5 separate regions of the Homo sapiens genome follow, and all the other regions are linked to region 1. The links are contacts of gene promoters, found by promoter capture Hi-C in human tissues and cell types (Jung and others, 2019). All regions are on one chromosome and are shown on one strand. Each heading gives the region's core, a stretch centred on a gene start or on the middle of the fragment in contact. The rest is flanking DNA. Distances are from core to core; before and after follow the strand shown.

Evidence for each region. Contacts are between HindIII fragments. The study calls those that stand out against the background at their distance.
Region 2: a fragment that was not itself captured here is called in contact with the fragment with the promoter of PCDH18 in region 1 in 1 of the 25 tissues and cell types used here (mesenchymal stem cells).
Region 3: a fragment that was not itself captured here is called in contact with the fragment with the promoter of PCDH18 in region 1 in 1 of the 25 tissues and cell types used here (mesenchymal stem cells).
Region 4: a fragment that was not itself captured here is called in contact with the fragment with the promoter of PCDH18 in region 1 in 2 of the 25 tissues and cell types used here (dorsolateral prefrontal cortex and mesenchymal stem cells).
Region 5: a fragment that was not itself captured here is called in contact with the fragment with the promoter of PCDH18 in region 1 in 2 of the 25 tissues and cell types used here (heart left ventricle and mesenchymal stem cells).

What each region holds. Positions count from the first base shown.
Region 1 is chr4:137,530,863-137,534,418 of GRCh38, forward strand. It overlaps PCDH18 (protocadherin 18), which reads right to left and starts at 1,632. Exons shown (of 4, transcript NM_019035.5): 1 at 1-1,632. The coding sequence starts at 1,226. RefSeq lists an enhancer at 1,541-1,660. The HindIII fragment of the contact is 2,929 bases long and covers 544-3,472 here.
Region 2 is chr4:137,995,642-137,999,050 of GRCh38, forward strand. No RefSeq gene overlaps it. Among named protein-coding and RNA genes, the nearest start is that of SLC7A11-AS1, 92 kb to the right of the region's middle. The HindIII fragment of the contact is 4,525 bases long and covers 1-3,409 here.
Region 3 is chr4:137,851,536-137,855,250 of GRCh38, forward strand. No RefSeq gene overlaps it. Among named protein-coding and RNA genes, the nearest start is that of SLC7A11-AS1, 240 kb to the right of the region's middle. The HindIII fragment of the contact is 3,490 bases long and covers 688-3,715 here.
Region 4 is chr4:137,265,863-137,269,520 of GRCh38, forward strand. No RefSeq gene overlaps it. Among named protein-coding and RNA genes, the nearest start is that of LINC02511, 55 kb to the left of the region's middle. The HindIII fragment of the contact is 5,929 bases long and covers 1-3,658 here.
Region 5 is chr4:137,811,640-137,815,178 of GRCh38, forward strand. No RefSeq gene overlaps it. Among named protein-coding and RNA genes, the nearest start is that of LINC02172, 270 kb to the left of the region's middle. The HindIII fragment of the contact is 4,270 bases long and covers 140-3,539 here.

The DNA of each region.
Region 1 (3,556 bases), core at 382-2,881:
TTCTGAAGTTTAAAGTGACCATGTCCATGAAGCTTACAAACTATTTCTCCATTCAGCCCAGAATCCTTGTCCTGAACTCTGACCAAAGCAACAAATGTATCAATAGGATCCCCTTCAAAAATATAAGATATTTCTTCTTTTCCAGGGGACATGAGGTTGATGTTAATTTCAGGTTTATTGTCATTAACATCCACAACCTTAATTATAATTTTGCAATGGGCTGGGATTGAATTTGGACCCAAATCTTGAGCCTGAACATCAATCTCATAGGATTTGGTGATTTCATAATCCACTTGCTTGAAAAGAGTCAAATGTCCTCTTTCAGAATCAATTTTAAAAGTCTCCATAATTTTGGGAGACACATGACTGCTGAAGGAATATACAATTTTCCCATTAGCGCCCTCATCTGGATCCGTGGCATTCAGATCTAAGAGCAAAGTGCCAACCGGGGAGTTTTCTAAGAGTTGTATTATATAAGATTGCTGCTCAAAAGCAGGGCTGTTGTCATTGGAGTCTGAAATGCTTATTTTTAGTATGGATGAGCCAGACCTCTGAGGTACTCCCATGTCTGAGGCAGTGAGCTGAAGCTCGTAGCTTGACTTCAGCTCCCGATCTAACTCTCTGACCACTATGAGTTCTGCATACTTGGCTCCATCAGTCCTGGTCCGAACCTCGATATTAAAAAAATCATTGGCAGAGAGCGAGTATGTGTGGAGGGAATTTTCCCCAACATCTGGATCAAATGCACTGTCCAGGGGAATGCGAGTCCCAACTGCTGCACTCTCAGATATCTCAATAGGTATGAGAGATCTTGAAAACTGGGGAGAATTGTCATTAATATCCAGCACTTCAACTTCAATATGGAAAAGCTGCAGATGCTCTGTGGGTAGAGTGATCACATCAAACTCTATGGAACAGTTCAAGTTTTTCTGGCACAGTTGTTCACGGTCAATTGTAGCCCCTATGCTGATTTCCCCATTATCCTCGTTTACTACAAGTAGAGGAGAATTTCCCCTCTGCATGGCTCGAAATCGAACAGTAGAAGGATTAGGAAGCTTCAATAAAACATCAGCCACATCCTCTGATAGTCTTGCAATTACTGATCCAACCCTCTGTTCCTCATAAATCCTGTATTTCAAATTCTTGCCCAGTACATCGTGGTTGAAAGATACTATCAGAAGTGCAAAAACAAACCTAAAGTGCATTTTAGCATTCATTTGGTGCATTGGTCAGTTTATGAGATTTCCCTCACAGAGCAAGTTAAAACAGCAAAGCAATTGCCTCAACTTCCTTTGGCAACGTAAAGCTACATTTGGTACTTGAAACTTGAAAGCGTCTCTTAATAACACAGCACAGCAATTAACAGCTCGCAAACTTTTGTTTTATACACACCGTGTCACGACTTCCAGATACCTTCGGCATGGAGTCCAGTCCTTGCGTTTGTTTGGTCGTTCGTCCTCTTTCCAGGCAGGAGAGTGTCACCTCCGCGTTTTCTCCCTTGTGTAGTCGGAATCCATCTATTGCAGGGTGCCGGTGGAGTCTGCAGTGTGTCTTTCCTGAGCGATTCTTTCTCCCTTTAGCTGCTCGGCTGCAGACTAAACACCCGTGATTGCTGACTCCAGTCTAAAATCTGTACAACTTCACTTCAACTCAGACAAAGCTCTTGCCCAGCGTGTGTTGAATCGCTTCCAGCCAATCAGCGTGCTTCCAAATCAAAAGCTGATGGAGTCACCCAAGGAGGGAGGGCGAGAGTGGAGGGTGGGAGAGAGAAAGAGACGGAGAAGGAGGAAGGCGGGGGTGGGTGCGCGAGGGAGAGAAGGGGAGATGGGCTGGTGGGGGCTGGGGGAGGAGATGGGAGCCAGTCCTTCCCTGTTCCTTCCTTCTTCCTCCCCACTCCCCCTCCGCCTTTCAATCTACTGCATTCACTTTCTCTGAGCGTGCCATGACAAAGGGGAGACAAATTACAGAAGAAAAACTTTAAATCAACTTCTGGTCGCCTTTATTTATATGGCACGTTAAATTCTTCTTGTTTTCTTAATTGCCCTTTCTTCTGCCACAGACATGTAATCATCTTGCTTTTCATAGTCCTTAAGTGCTAGTTTAACTTAAAATACCTCTAAGTGCGTTTTGTTGGTGGAGGAATTTAATACAATTTGAAAACTTGCTTCTAATTATGCTTCTCAGACCACCTCCTTCCCCACTCCCTCTGTAAATACTTGGGCCTTTCTCCTTCCAGGAGCACAAGCAGATTTTCTTGGGGCTCTGTTTTTAAAGAACGGAGCAAGTAAAGAGGTTTCATTTTCTGTTTTCTTTCATCTTTATTCTTTGAAGATAAAAAAAGGGCTATCTTGCACTCTTCATTTCTCTTAATTAGCAAGACTTAAGGGAACACCTCAGAATTTGGAACTAATTAACAATATAGTTCTACCTTGTATGATTTCTTTCCTTGAGTTTGGGCAAAATTGTTTGTAATATTTCTTTGTCCTGTACTTCAAAAAAATCCTATTTATCTTGGGTAAAAGACACTGCAAGCTTTAGCATGCCAATTTCTACCAAAAGGCACTATCTATACATGGCTAGTCTTTGCAGTGAATACAGGGGGGACATGGACTCAATAGTTTACAAGTCAAATTTTTATAATATATGCATTATTTATGAAAACACTTCAGATATGTATTTTAAAAACCCCAAAGGTTGTTTACACTGACAAATCAAATGCCTGAGCTGAAAATTGCATTTTGTATGCATCAAAATGCTAGGAAATATCATGGGAGGCTTGTGCTCTATCCAGGTCACAGAAACTGATACGGTATTCTTATTTGAAAATATGATTATTTATGATGTTCTTTCTGCTCTGCAATTCCTTTTAAGTTTATCATCGTGGCTCCATTTTTGCTGCTTTTTTTCATACCTTTTTCCTTATTCCTCAGCTGTCTTCATCCGCTTGCATATTTGCTGTTTCACAGAATGTCATTGTCACTTTTTTCCATTTATTTTTTCTCACTGTCTATTTTGCCCCCCAGAAACATATAAAAAAAGTAATTTTCTGATTTTTCCACTTTGCTTACTCTCAGCAGAGCTCAGCTAAAGTCACTAAGAAGGCTCTTTCCAAAAAAGAAAGCAGAGGAGTCTCAGCGTGAATTCTCCTTCTTTTTAGGCATTCAAAAGCATTTTATAAGCCATTGTCTTTTTTTCCCCCTCCTGAAATCAGTGCTGTGTGGCAAATTGTGCAGAATAGAAATGCCTATAATGAATGTATTTAGTACTGGGTCACGCTGATGAACATTCTGCCCCCATGAATAATACTGTTTTACAAGTTTGTAGCCCTTTCAAATTGCTGATCCCCAAACCCTATAGGCAAACTAGGAAAACTACCACAAGCAAGGGGGACTTTAGAAACCCATAGCCATCTGGCCTAGATCTCTAACAATCTGAGCCAATAATTATATCAATTCAGGCTTTAGCGAACCCCTTTGCAAACACCAAAAGAGCAAAGAAAGGAATTAGTGACTATTCAAAGTTGGGGTGAGAATTCAAAGGTAACCTAATTCCATTA
Region 2 (3,409 bases), core at 854-3,353, 470 kb after region 1:
TGGCTCACTGTCACCTCTGCCTCCCGGGTTCAAGCTATTCTCATGCTTCAGACTCCCAAGTAGCTGGTACTACAGGCACACACCACCACGCCCAGCTAATTTTTGTATTTTTAGTAGAGATGAGGTTTTGCCAGGTTGGCCAGGCTGATCTCAAACTCCTGACCTCAGGTGATCCACCCGCCTCGGCCTCCCAAAGTGCTGGGATTACAGGCGTGAGCTACCAGGCCCGGCCCTGGAAAGGTCTTTTTCAAGACCAAACCTCTATGTTTTTAAAGCTTGTTTCAAATAACTATTCTTATGTTCATAGAACTTCTATAATCAGACAATTTAGCATAAGCTACACAATAGGATGAACATTGAACTCATCCACAAACATTTATAATGGGTACATAACTCTATAATATGAACTTTAGAAACTCTTAAAGAAGCATACAGTACAGTCCATGAACCAAAAACACTCATAATCCTGATATAGAGATGAAATTTTTCTTATAGGAATCAAAAAGTTGAAGACAGCAATAAACAAATGCATATGATGTATAAAGGCTCTTGCATAGGTGTTAGGAACAAAACAAGTAACCAAAAGATTAATGTGGGCTGTGTTTACTTCAAGATCACAAGTATAATTGATTTATACAGCCCAAACTCAGAGACAGATACCATTCTCAAAATAAAAATCTGACAGATAATAATATTGTGAAGCAATCTGGTTTATACATAAATAAAAAGTCCCTACGATGCATTGTTAAAATAGATTTTATGATACCAATCATCAGTGTTTCAATATAATGTATTATTTTTAGGAAACAATTTTAGGCAGTAGAACTAATTTCATTTCCTTAAAATATTCAGAGTTTAGCGTTTTGAAATTGAGAGATTTTTTTTCCATTAATTTACATGTCTGTGAGAATTTCCCATGGAAAGATTTTACTTCATAATTCATGTTCATTGCATTCTTTCTGATAAATCCACTTGCAGAAAAGAGACAGAGAGGCAAAAACAAAACTGCAGTGAATGAGTGGTTCTTTTGTTTCTTCATCATTCCTTTGGGGAAGAATGCTTTACAGACATTTAAACAAAAATTTAAAGGTGGTTTTATTATTTTCCTAGATGCTTTCTAAAAATTATCTTATCATGTTTGAGTCTTTTTCAGAAAGGTGATGCTTTAGTGCTGTAGTCAAGGGCATAAAAGTAAGAAATAGGCACTCTTATTTCAATTAGGATCCAAATGATGTCATTGCTACTGCCAAAGAAGGCTCAGTTTGCTTAGAATAATGGAGAAGAAATCATTGGTACCTCTTTGAGCATGTTGAAAATGATATTTCATTGAAAGATATTACAATTAATAGTTTATAAAATGTCTACCTTAAATATTAAGACCAATTAAAATTTTGTGAAATATTGATTTTAGCAATTAAGTTCTTTATGTTTTCCTAGTTAGCAATTTTGTTATTGTCTTCATCAGTACTTAGTTTCAATTAAAGTCAGTAATTATATTTTTCTTTCTTCTATACCTTCACAAATGAAACCTAGAATAAGCAAGGGTATTCAGAGAAGATTAATCAATATTCTCTAAAAATCTGAAGTGATAATAAACATTGTCTACATTGAATAAGGCAGATTATGCATTCTTATATTTTCAAGTTTTCATAAGTACCACTCAAAACCTTCTTCTCATGGGGGCCCAAACAAAACAGATTTAATATTCAAATCATTATTATTCTCAAAGGATTTAACAAAGTTTTTATAAACAAGTCTACAGGGTGTACTGTAGAAAAACCATTAGGGATAAGGTAGAACCCCAGGGCTGTCCCCATGCCTCCATGGCTAGGCCAGAGGAGGGGAGGATGCTACAGTTTCAAAGAAGAGCTGCCTTGAGAGGAGTTGTAATCTTCTCTCAAAGGACACAGCATCCATCCCTCACTCCCTGCTTCTTATAGTATGCTGCTTGCATTCTCCACTGGCAAAAGCCTATTAGAAACCAGTAATGCTGTTCACCTCACTTAACCTTCTAGGGTCAGAGAACAGGGCAAAAAAGAGTAGAGAGCTGACATGTAAGGGCAAATGGGATTAATCTAGCATGTTGAAACTCATATTGTGTTCCCTCCTAGATTCTTAGCCTGTTACCCGGCAGCCTGTTACCTGCTTCTAGCATTTACAAAATCCCACATTACAAAAATCCCACATTACAAAGATCCATAGCAACCTCTAATAGATTTTACTGAGTAGCAGGAAAGCAGTAAGCTTAGTAGACATTAAGAGATTAGTAATGAACCAAAGAATGATTTTTAAAGCACTAGTCAATTGCCTATTTTTAAATCAATGCATAAAAAGAAGAGTTTATTTACCTGTATACATTTTTGAAGTTTCACAAAGGCTTAAAAAATTTTCGAAAACCTCTTTCATAGAAAACCTTTTAAAAGGAAGGGAAACCATGGTTCTTATTCTAAATTAACAACATTTTATATGTGCTCATTTAATCACTCAAACTATGTATTGAGTATCACGAGCTCTTCAGCATTTGGAAGTTTAGTGTAGTCAGTAGGCTATTACTGATAGCAAACTTCTAAAACAAAGTCATTTAAAATATTGATTTGATGAAACATTGTATGTATAAATTTTTTCAAGTCATTTACCACTTACAGAAAAATATACCATTTCCTTTCTATTTTTATTGCAGCTTTCTTTTTCTTGTGCTAAATAAAAAAAAATCAGCATTACAAGGATCAGCTATGTTTATGACTTTCCTTTTTTAAAAAATATGTTGAGTTATTGGTCTGCATAACATCAGAAGGTTGGAATATCCATCAGATTGCAAATTTCCCAAGGTCAGAAATTATGTTCTCTATACCACTGGAAATTTTATGCATCTTTATTAAGGACTTACAAACAAAGCAGTTGCTGAGCTCATGTAGTTTCAAGGTCTCAAATTCAAGTTCAGTACTTAATTTAATTTCTGTGTTGGAGTAATCAAGTTGAGTTATAACTTATTTTTTCTACACACATTAAAATATCAAGCACACGTTGCCAAATGCTTCATTATGATTATACCTACCCACTTGAAATGGTATTCAGAGTTCTACTAGAATACCATTACTGTTTAATTTGTTGAGCACACATTTTTTACATATTTTGATGGCCACAAATTTTCCCAGTAGAACAGCTTTGAAACAACATGGCTAAATTGTCTGCAGACTTCAGACCTTATTTGATACTAAGTTTAGAACAGAGATCACAATGAGCGTTCTACTCTCACAACTTGGATCTAAGACAAAAGGCTGCAGTAAAATTCTGGGAATGTGTCTCAAAACAAGTGAGGTGTAAACCTAGATCATAGATTTTTAAGCTTACATGTCATCTGCTTTACCTCTTTCAGATTCCTAAAATGTTTTAAATGACATAGAAATGT
Region 3 (3,715 bases), core at 1,183-3,682, 320 kb after region 1:
TTCTGTTACGAACTGATTAGAGTCTGTTAAGCTGGAGATGATAAAAATGAATATGAAAACAAAACAAAAACCACCCATTTGTTATCTCATATTTCCTGTGAATAGAAGTCCAAGTACAGTATGGCTCAGTTCCCTGTTCAGAATCATGAAGCTAGAATCAAGTTGTTGGCCTGGATTGCAATTTTATCTGAGACTCTGGGTTCCATTTCATACTCATTTGGTTTGTTAAAGGAATGCAATTTTTTATGATTGTAAGACTAAGGTTCTCACTTTCTTGCTGTCTGTTAACTGGGGGCCATTCTCAGAGCATAAAAACACCTGTTATTTCCTGCACTAACGTGAAAACTTAAATGGCAGTTTCCTCCTTCAAGGCCGATGTGAAAATCTGTTTTACTTCAGGATATTGGGGCCATCTTGGGATTCTGCATACCACTCTATGTTTACCCACAGTGCACTAAAGCTTTCACATTTCTCTAGTACTATCTTGTGCTTGAGCCTGGGATTTATTTGGCAGAGTCTCCTTTCAGTGTCTGTTCCATCTATAGCTTCAAGTCTTTCCCTTCATTTGTCCTTCTTCAGAGTATGTCTCTCTTAATTTTCTACACCTTCTTCCAGCAGTGAATTGCTATTATTTATAGCTCAAAACTTACTAACCTGCTAGCAGAGGGGAGGGGAGTGATTCTCTATTGTTGGGGCTCAGCCTCTAACTTAGGTAAGTGCTGTGTCCCTGGGTTCTGGATTTGGTGCCTTTTCAGTGCCCTTGTCCATACCTCTAATTGTCTAGGCCATAAATGTATTTCCGGCACTTCTCTAAGAATAGAATATTTTTTCTTTTCTTTTTCCCCAGCTGGAATGGGTCTTTACCCTTGTCCTAAAAGTGATATGATTGGTTTCCCTAACCCTACTAGGTTAAAGCTTTGGTTTCATAGGGAAGATAGGGGCCTAGATGCTGCTGTACGTCTTTCCCAGGCAAGCTTCAGAGAGGAGTTTTTCTGAGGGTTTTTGTTTCACTTTTCATCATGAGCTCACAGTGAGGCCTGTGGGGAAGAACCTGTGAATCTCTCCAAATTCCCTTTGTATGTGTGGCTTCTAATACTTCTATATGCTCACATTCTCCTATGCTCAACATTTAGCAATTTATTAAAAATTTTAACTGAGTTCTTACCTGCCTGCCTGGTGTTCTTTGTCTACTGTAAGCAAACAAGAGCTAGCATCATGTCTCTCCTTGGAGGTGTCTGCCTTTCCTTAGATATTGGCTTTGTTGGTTGCCCTACAACCACAGGTCGCTGATCAATTCAAGAAAAGTTGTGATTTTGTAGATTTTCTAGATCGTACTATATTGTATTCAGGATAGAAAAACTTCTCTTCTTCGCCTTTCACACCCTGAAGGAAGCCCAATTAACTTCTTGTTTTCATTATTGTTATGAATCTTCCTTTGAACATTACAATCCCTATAAGGAGAGTGGGGATACCTTTTTTATTTACTAAGCCTGACCCTTATTTGGTATCATATTTGTTGAGTAAAGCAATGAAGAAATGAACAAATAAAACAAGTAAATGAATGAGCTGTATAGAGTTGTGTGGAGTTGCATAGTAGGAACTTAAAAGTACAGCAAATATGAGAGCTTGTAGTAATTCAGTAGAATAGTCATGTCAGATATAGAACCATGCCATTTACAAGATTCATGTACGAAAACAATTAAAAAAAAAAAAAGAACTAGCTCCTAAAAAATGGAGCTTGAAAGATCAAGAGAAAGACCAGGCAACTGCTTGTCGAACAGACTGGTAAAGAGAATTGAATCCTCCTTATGGGACTCAATACCTTGTGAGGAAGGTGAAAGAGAAAATTCATACCCTAGATGAAGAAAGGTGGTGGGATGGTTAGCTATTTATATGCTTTCATTAATTGTAGATTATACCTTTGAGAGGTGACAACGTGCCAGCAGCCCTCGCTCTCGGTGCCTCCTCGGCCTCGGCGTCCGCTCTGGCCGCGCTTGAGGAGCCCTTCAGCCTGCCGCTGCACTGTGGGGGCTCCTCTCTGGGGCTGGTCGAGGTCGGAGCCGGCTCCCTCTGCTCGCGGGGAGGTGTGGAGGGAGAGGCGCGCGGCGCTTGCAGGCCGGCGCGGGTTCCGGATGGGCGCGGGTTCCTCAGGCCCCGCCCTCTGGCCGGCAGGCCACGCCTGCTGGACTTGATCAGGGGAGGAGCTCCCTCTGGGCTGCCAGAGTGCCTTGGCTAGGTGCTGCAAAGCCCCTCGTGAGTCCCATTAAGAGGTGAAGCCAGCTGGGCTTCTAGGTCGGGTGGGGACTTGGAGAACTTTTCTGTCTAGCTAAAGGTTTGTAAACGCACCAATCAACACTCTCTGTCTAGCTAAAGGTTTGTAAACACACCAATCAGCGCTCTGTGTCTAACTAATCTGGTGAGGACTTGGATAACTTTTGTGTCTAGCTAAAGGATTGTAAACGCACCAGTCAGCACTCTGTCAAAACAGACCAATAAGCTGTCTATAAAACGGACCCATTAGCTGTCTGTAAAATGGACCAATCAGCAGAATGTGGGTAGGGCCAGATATGGGAATAAAAGCAGGCCACCCAAGCCAGCAGTGGCAACCTGCTGGGGTCCCTTTCTACACTGTGGAAGCTTTGTTCTCTCGCTCTTCGCAATAAATCTTGCTGCTGCTCACTCTTTGGGTCCGTGCTGACTTTAAGAGCTGTAACACTCACCATGAGGGTCCACAGCTTCACTCCTGAAGTCAGCGAGACCACGAACCCACCAGAAGGAAGAAACTCTGGACACATCTGTACATCTGAAGGAACAAACTCTGGACACACCGTCTTTAAGAACTGTAACACTCACCGCGAGGGTCCACGGCTTCATTCTTGAAGTCAGCGAGACCAAGAACCCACCAATTCCTGACACACCTTTGCTAGAGGATCAGCATAGTGTTTGCTGTGGCAAGCTAACCAGATACACTTTCAAGTCCAAGATACCCAGTCCCTAGCTGCCAGCATTGTTGGCTGCTGACACCTCATAATTGTGCAAAAAGAAGTTGCTTTTCTCAAGATTTTGCTTCACACTCCCCAACAGCGGCACCAATGAAGAACACAAAGGCAAAGCCCACATGCATTTCAGCTTCAGAGCTGTCTCTGAGATTGGATGAGGTCTCTGTTGCATCCCAGTTAAACTTCTGACTAATGCTGCTTCCTTTACTCTCACAGGTGTTTCTTAGAGCCTTCCCCAGTATACTTCACACATACATAGTTCTGAGGTAGTTCCTTAGAGAAGTCAATCTGCAGCAAATAAAAGAAATTATTTTCAAATTCTGATAATTTGTAAATTTAGGGTTACTGATATATTATTTGTCATTAGCTTTTCTGCTCGTTGGTTCCAGAAGAAACCATGGTGTGATAGACTGAATGATGACTCCCTCTCCCACAGCAATGTCCATGTCTCAATCCTCAAAACCTGGGAATATGTTACTTTACATGGTCAAGGAAATTTTGCAGATGTAATTAATTTGAGGATTTTGTGATGGAGAGATTATCCGGAATTATCCAGGTTGGCCTGGATAATCACAAGGGTCCTTTTAAGAGTGGGACAGGATTAGAATCAGACAGAAGATGAAGTGACGACAGAAGCAAAGGAACAGAAAGAAAGATTAGAGCATGCTACACTACTGCTTTAAAGATGAAGGAAGGGGACATAAGCTGAGGAATGC
Region 4 (3,658 bases), core at 1,073-3,572, 260 kb before region 1:
ATCTTGTTTCACCATTATTATTTTTTACTGGAGAAACCGATGACTGGAACTATTAAATTACTTCCAAAAGAACCAGGATTGGAACTCGGGTTTCCTACACTAGTTTCTGTGTTCTCTTTTCATTTTAACACATGGCCTATTACCTCTTTATATTTTATGGAGAATAAAATCATCACAATAGAATGCTCCATAAAATTATACATATGCCTTAAAATTTTTACATATCAATATAATCTTTTTGTTGTTAAATCCGCAGTCCATCCTTTTAGCTATTTCAGTTGCTGGGGGTGCTATATAAGATTTTAATTGTGCAATATTGAACATTTCACATAAAAGAATGATGTATCTCTTGAGCTTTCAGGGAGACAAGAAAATTTAGTCTACGGAAGAACAAAAGCAAACAAAAAGCAAATAGGAAACTTCTCTCATGAGAAGTAAACAATAGTACCCCATTATAGGGGGTGTGATGGTTGATATTGAGTATCAACTTGATCCAATTGAAGGCTGCAAAGTATTGTTTCTGGATGTGTTTGTGAGGGTGCTGCCAAAAGAGATTAACATTTGAGTTTGTGGACTGGGAGAGGCAGACCTACCCTCAATCTGGGTGGGCACCATCTAACAGCTGCCAGAGTAGTTAGGAGAAAAGCAGGCAGAAGAACCTGGAAGGACGAGGCTGGCTGAGTCTTCCGGCCTCTGTCTTTCTCCCATGCTGGATGCTTCCTGCTCTGGAACATCAGACTCCAAGTTCTTCTGTTTTTGGACTCTTGGACTTACAGCAGTGATTTGCCAGGGGCTCTCAGGCTTCAGCCACGGACTGAAGGCTGCATTATCAGCTTCCCTTCTTTTGTGGTTTTGGGACTTGGACTGGCTTCCTGGCTCCTCAGCTTGCAGGTGACCTGTTGTGGGACTTCACTTAGTGATTGTGTGAGTCAATTCTCCTAATAAACCCCCCTTCATACATACATCTATCCTATTAGTTCTGTCCTTTTAGAGAACCCTGACTAATACAGGGAGAAATGGAAATATATTTGTTCCAAGACTCCCAGTAGATGCCTAATACTGTGCTAGTGCCAAAGCTTATACATACACTATATGTTTTCCTATATATTGATATTTATGATAAAGTTTAATTTCTACATTAGGAACAGTAAAAGATTAACAACAATGACTAAAAATACAGTAGAACATTTATAACAATATGCCAGCATCACTACTCTTGCACTTTGGCACCATTATTAAGTAAAGAGTTAATTGCACAAAAACACTGTGATACCGCAACAGTTAATATCATACCCCAGAGGGATACTAAGTGGGTAGTGTGTGCAGCTTGGATACACTGGACAAAGTGATGATTCATGTTATGGGTGGAACCAAGTGAGATGGTGTGAGATTTTATCATATTACTCATAATGGCACACTATTTAAAGCTTATGAATTATTTCTGGAATTTTCCATGTAATATTTTTGGACCCTGGTTGACTGTGGGTAACTGAAATCACGGAAAGTGAATCAATGGATAAGGGAGGACTACTATAATATTTTAGACTACAATCTTAAGTATTATAAGCCTACAATTTCACATGCCGCTGCTTTCACATTGTTGAACCTTGTGGGGCACAAAAGGCCTAAAGGTGAGTCTCCTTGCTCTCAACAGACATACTCTGACCCAGCTAGTTGGATCAGGTGAGGCAGCTGCTCGCCATCTGGTCCTCAACCTAACAGGTTTTTTATGCCTGCCACCTCAAACAAGTTATTAGAACAAGTTCGTATCTTTCTCAGGTACTTCACCCTCTCATTACTACCAAGCCTGCCTCCCACAGCCCTTGCTTGTTCAGCTTTGTCCCCTGTGCACCCTCTGCATGGCCTTGTGTCATGCCTGATACTACTCTGGAGCTATGGGTATGTTTTAACAATAAACTTGTTTGATTTCATTTGTGCAATATTGGTCATCATATATTTGTTTTTTTTTTCATATTAGGTAAAGGAGACGATATCTTCCTCACCAGCAGGATAAATAATAGGTGATCAAAAGACCCCAGAGCATGGTGCAAAAAAAAAATATGAAACAAACTAATTTTCCTCGATCTACATTTTGGAAAACCACTGTTATATTTTTCAGCTCCCAGTGGGAGTTTTTAATGCCTTTTTCAGCAACAAAACAAAACAAAACAAAACATTGCATTACATACCATAGGAGAGTAATGGAAAAGAGAAACAAAAATCCAGGATTAATTCTAAAGTCTTATATTCCTAAACACTATGAATATAGATAATAGGTCTTGATTTAAAGCTTTCCATATTAATTTAATCCCTTGTAAACTCTGCTGTTTCATAGAAATTATACTTTAAGATGAAGATTAAAAACAGAAAAAGAATATTTTGTGTCTGTTCATTCATGTTATTCCTTGATTCATTGTAGCATAATGAACAAAATTTTAGTTTAAGATTAAAAACTTGCAATTATGGTGACAGTTAAATATATATTATAGAAACATGAAAAAACTACAACTCTTTATGACATTCAGAGATCATGAAAACATGCTATTAAGAGATTTTCAATATAATACTAGAGTAACTTGGAAAAATATAAACTAATAATTTAAAAACTTTGTGAAAGTCAACAGATAATATTTTATAATATAAAGTTAACATTCATTTTTTAAAACTTCAACTCTAGAGCCTAGAAGATTTGATGAAAGAGAAACTTTTTTATTCACTTTATTGATAATGTTCAATTGTAACATTTCTGCTGCATTTAAGATAGCACAATCTCACCTTACAAGCAAATTACTCATGTCTATTTCCTATCTCGATAAGCACACCTAAGAGCATACGATTTTGTTTCCATTCACAGATGTACCATAGATACTTATGAGGAACATTTCCACATGTTGCACACCTCCTTTAATTTTGTTTGTTAGTTGGTCCTTGTAGATCAACTTTATGGGTTTTATCTTGACCTATCACATTTATTTGTAACATATGATAATCTGAGCAAGAAGGCAAATGCACTTCCATTTTGACTCTCAACCTGGATATACATATTTCCCTGACAATGTGCAGCCTCCATTGTGAAGACTGAACTTGAGGATGTGTCTTAGAAAGACTCACCGGAACATTAGCCAGATGTTAACAATGTATATTACTGCAGGTCTAATTTGTTCTGAAAATCTCTTTGTGAACTTGACAAAGCCATATGCCTCAGTATGTTCTTTCATCAGTTAAAAAAAAGGGGTTTGGGACTATTTCAGCAACAAAAATGCTATGAATATAATATTTTGACTAACTGCCTTTTAAATTTTTATATATTTTCCATTTGCATTCATTTAGGATATGTAATATATTCATATAGTTCAAAATGCAAGAGGCATACAATTTTAAAGAACATGTTGAAGGCCTACCCATCACTGTCAGCCTAATTTAGCCCACCTCAATGCTTTTGAGGTAACCACTGTCATTACTTTTGGATGCATCACTCCAAGGTGGCTTTATGCAATTATAATTGTATACAATTACTTTCCTCTTTCTTCCAAAAAATAAAACTTACTCTATACAGTATTCTAAAGATTGGCTTTTTCATCATATGTATCTTGAGCTCTTTAATATTATAATATAGAAAGTTATCTTATTATCTTTTTCTGCTTTATGATAATGGTAT
Region 5 (3,539 bases), core at 1,025-3,524, 280 kb after region 1:
ACTAAACAGTGGGGTTTTTGAAAGTCTTAAAGCAAGTTATGTCACAGAAGCTTCACAGGGAACCTAGATAGAGAAGGACTTACCTTTATGATGTATGGTTGTGACTTCTGTGTAAAAGATAACCCTAAGTATATTCATGGAGAACCCACACAATTTTTAAGAGAATTATTTTGGTCAAAATAGCTCCAGCTTAGACAAAAATGGAAAAAAAGACTTTGGGATATCTAAGCTTTCTTGGGCAGGAAACTGGCTGTCAAGGATACAGAGGGCAGATCCGTGAGCCATGAGCATGGAAACAAGAACCACAGAGAATAATGCCCTGAGAGCAGCAGTGAGGCCTGATTATCAAAGGCCTAAGTCATCAAAATGGACCCAGTGGATTTCACAATGGACATGTACCAGTGACTGCTGTGTACCTCCTGTTATTCCCTTTTAATGAGAATGTTTATGGAAATTATCTTATGCCTGTTCCCCTGTTCTATTCTAACCCATAATCTCTCTGCCTCATTTGGGATAAGAATAAAACCCTTTCCACCCTGCTTTCCCATTCTCTCCTTCCTTCCTCTTATACTTTAAAACTTTCAGTGAAATTTACTTTAAAATTCACTATGCTTTTAGAGCTTTTCCTCTAGCATGTTTATACCAAGATATTTCTCCTTTTTTGTTTAAACTCACAAAATCAGCCATTTTTTCTCCTTCATGTGTGTTGGGGAGAAGATAACTTGTTTCTTTAGTTCCCAGATCTTTAGATTAGGAGAACCATACTCAACGGGCTGTCCCGTAGGAGCCAAATTCCAAGAGCTTCACCTGCACATGGATCTGATTTAGGTGATGAAACCCTGGACTTTGAACTTGAAACCAATTTCATAATGAGATAGGATGTTTTAGGAGTTTGAAAAAGGTTAAATGTATTTTACATGTGAAGAGAATGTAAATAACTTGTGGCAAGATGTCATACCGTGGCAGTTTAAGAATATGAGCCCCGAATGCTTTGCCATTCCTCCCATTGAATACTAGGGTTTATGTTCTTCCCCATAAACCCAGGTTCTGTGACAGGTTGACCAGCAGTATATGGCTAAAATGATTCTGTGCCATTTTCTGGGGCCAGGGCTTAAAAAGTGGAGGCTTCCACTTCCTGTGTCTTGTGGTATTGCTTCTGGGAACGAACCACCATAGTGTGAGTAGAGAAAATGGAGGCACCCCATGGAGAGACCCATGAAAGAGAAAAACCAAGCCCTCAGCCATTAGTCAACACTATTTTGGAAGCCTTGTGAGACAGCCACCTAGCACGTAAATCCTCCAGTCTGTTGTATGTAACTAAGCTTTGCTGCAATCGATAACTGATACATATTTACTGTTGCACACCAAAATGATCCTGCACAAATTATTTGCCTCTCAAAGAGTTTTCTCAGCTGTAACATAGAGATAATCATGGTTTCTACCTGATAGTAAGGATCAAATGAGGGAGAGATTTGAAATGTCTAGCAAAGTGTTTAGGACATATTAAACTTTGAATAAGTGCTATCTATAATGATGTTCAAGGTGATTTAATTTTTGTTATTTTTTAAATAAATATGAGGAACTATCCTTATTTCGATTTCTCAAAATATTAGATTCTGTTTTAAAGGAAAGCTTGAAGTCACCTGGAGAGACCTTGGGCTCCTGTAACCACATGACTCCAGTGCATGTATATTTTCAAGTAAAAATGAAAATAAATTTGAGTCCTTATGTTGTTTTATACATTTTTGCCATGTGAGATTTAGCCGCATGCATTTTACTTTTTATATTTTCATGTATAGTTTCTGGGTTTTCCTGTTTGGAAATATTAGACCTTATTTTTCCCACTATTTCTATTCTTATTCTCCTTCATTCCTATTCAGGCATCTGTGTTAGGCAGATAACTCTCCATATGTACTGGGTACAAATTGCTCTTCATCAGGAAGTGCCACTTCACAAATTTAGAAAGAGAGGCATAGAGTCATTACAAAGGCTATTAAATAAAATAAAGTAGCTTGTTCAGAAACAAATAGATATTAACATCATCCTGTAACTAGACAACTTAAATAGCATATGGGATATATATTTTATCCTTACATGGCATCCTTGTTCTAATTCAATCACTCCTGTCAAATATACATTTAAAAACAAATTAGATGACAGCCATTAAAATTAGCATGCACCCACACACAAACACACCAGTTATTAAAGACCCTAATCGAACCACATATTTTTAGATTTGGACTTCTCAGAAACTTGGGCAGTCTGAGTACATCAACAAAGTGTTTTCCTTAGAAACAGCATATGTAGGTTTGAATGAGAAGTTAGCAAATGCCATCTTTATCCAGTGACTTGATTTGTAATTATTAGAGTTCTTACATATTATAAAACCTGGAAAGTTATTTTTAAAACATTGTGGAGAGAAAAATCTTTATTTTTTTTCCTTTAGGCAACAGAGGTCATGAAACATTTGATGAAATACATGGAAATCATACACAATACATGATTTTTCCCTGAATCAAATTGATTAACTGTGAAGATTTTTATAAACGATTCAGAAAGAAAAAATTACTTTACTTTTGCTAACATAATTTTTTTTCATCTCTATGGCCACACAACCATTTCAAAGAAAAGTCTCAACTCAGATTTACCTTTGCCAAATGAAGAGCAACAAAGTCTGTGTCAGCGTAGCCCAGGCTCAACTGGGTCTGCCCTTTTCATCAGGAGCATCATCTGCTTGCTGCGTTAGTCTGCTGGTCATGCTCCTATGAACATGGGGAATGGGAGGGGGTAGACTTCATCAAGTATTGTCCAGGAATCTTTCTGTATTGATGCCTAATACATGCTGAAACTACAGTAAATACCTCGAAGGTAAAAAGGTCCTACTTTTGATTTCCATGACTTTTTTATTTTTGTACAATTAAGAGAAAAATACATTAATAAGGTACTTGGGATCTTTTTCTGGAATTCAAGTTAGCTTTGCTTGTATGCTCTGCTAAGTTAAAATGTGAATGGATTAAAATAGCTTGTGTCATCATGCTAAGTAATAGGAATAAAGTAAGTTCTTAACAAGCAATGACAATGAGATTAGTAGCCCTGACCAGGGTTCACAAATAGGTTAGCATCACTGTATTTAAACTGGTAATGAAAATTTTGTTCAGAGTTAAATGAGCTCTGTTTAAGGATCACTGTGAGGTTAACTCTACAAGAAAAATATTATTTAATCTGTATTCCTTACAATTTCTGACCCCTAAGATAGAAGCTTCGTCCATTCCTTGAGATGCTTTAAAGATATATAGCAATGATTTTTACTCATTTGGTAGCCCTCACAACACTTATAACACCCATGAAAAAAAAATGCTTTATGAGAAGGAAAAAGCGAAATGCTCATAACTTATGAACGTGCATTAAGATAAGACAAAAAATGTAAAGTCAAGATCAGAATATAAGTTACTGATATGGTAGCCCAACACATCAGCCACCTTATCAGCCTTGTTTCTATATTATTATAGAGGTCCTACCAATTACAAAACAGTTGTCCA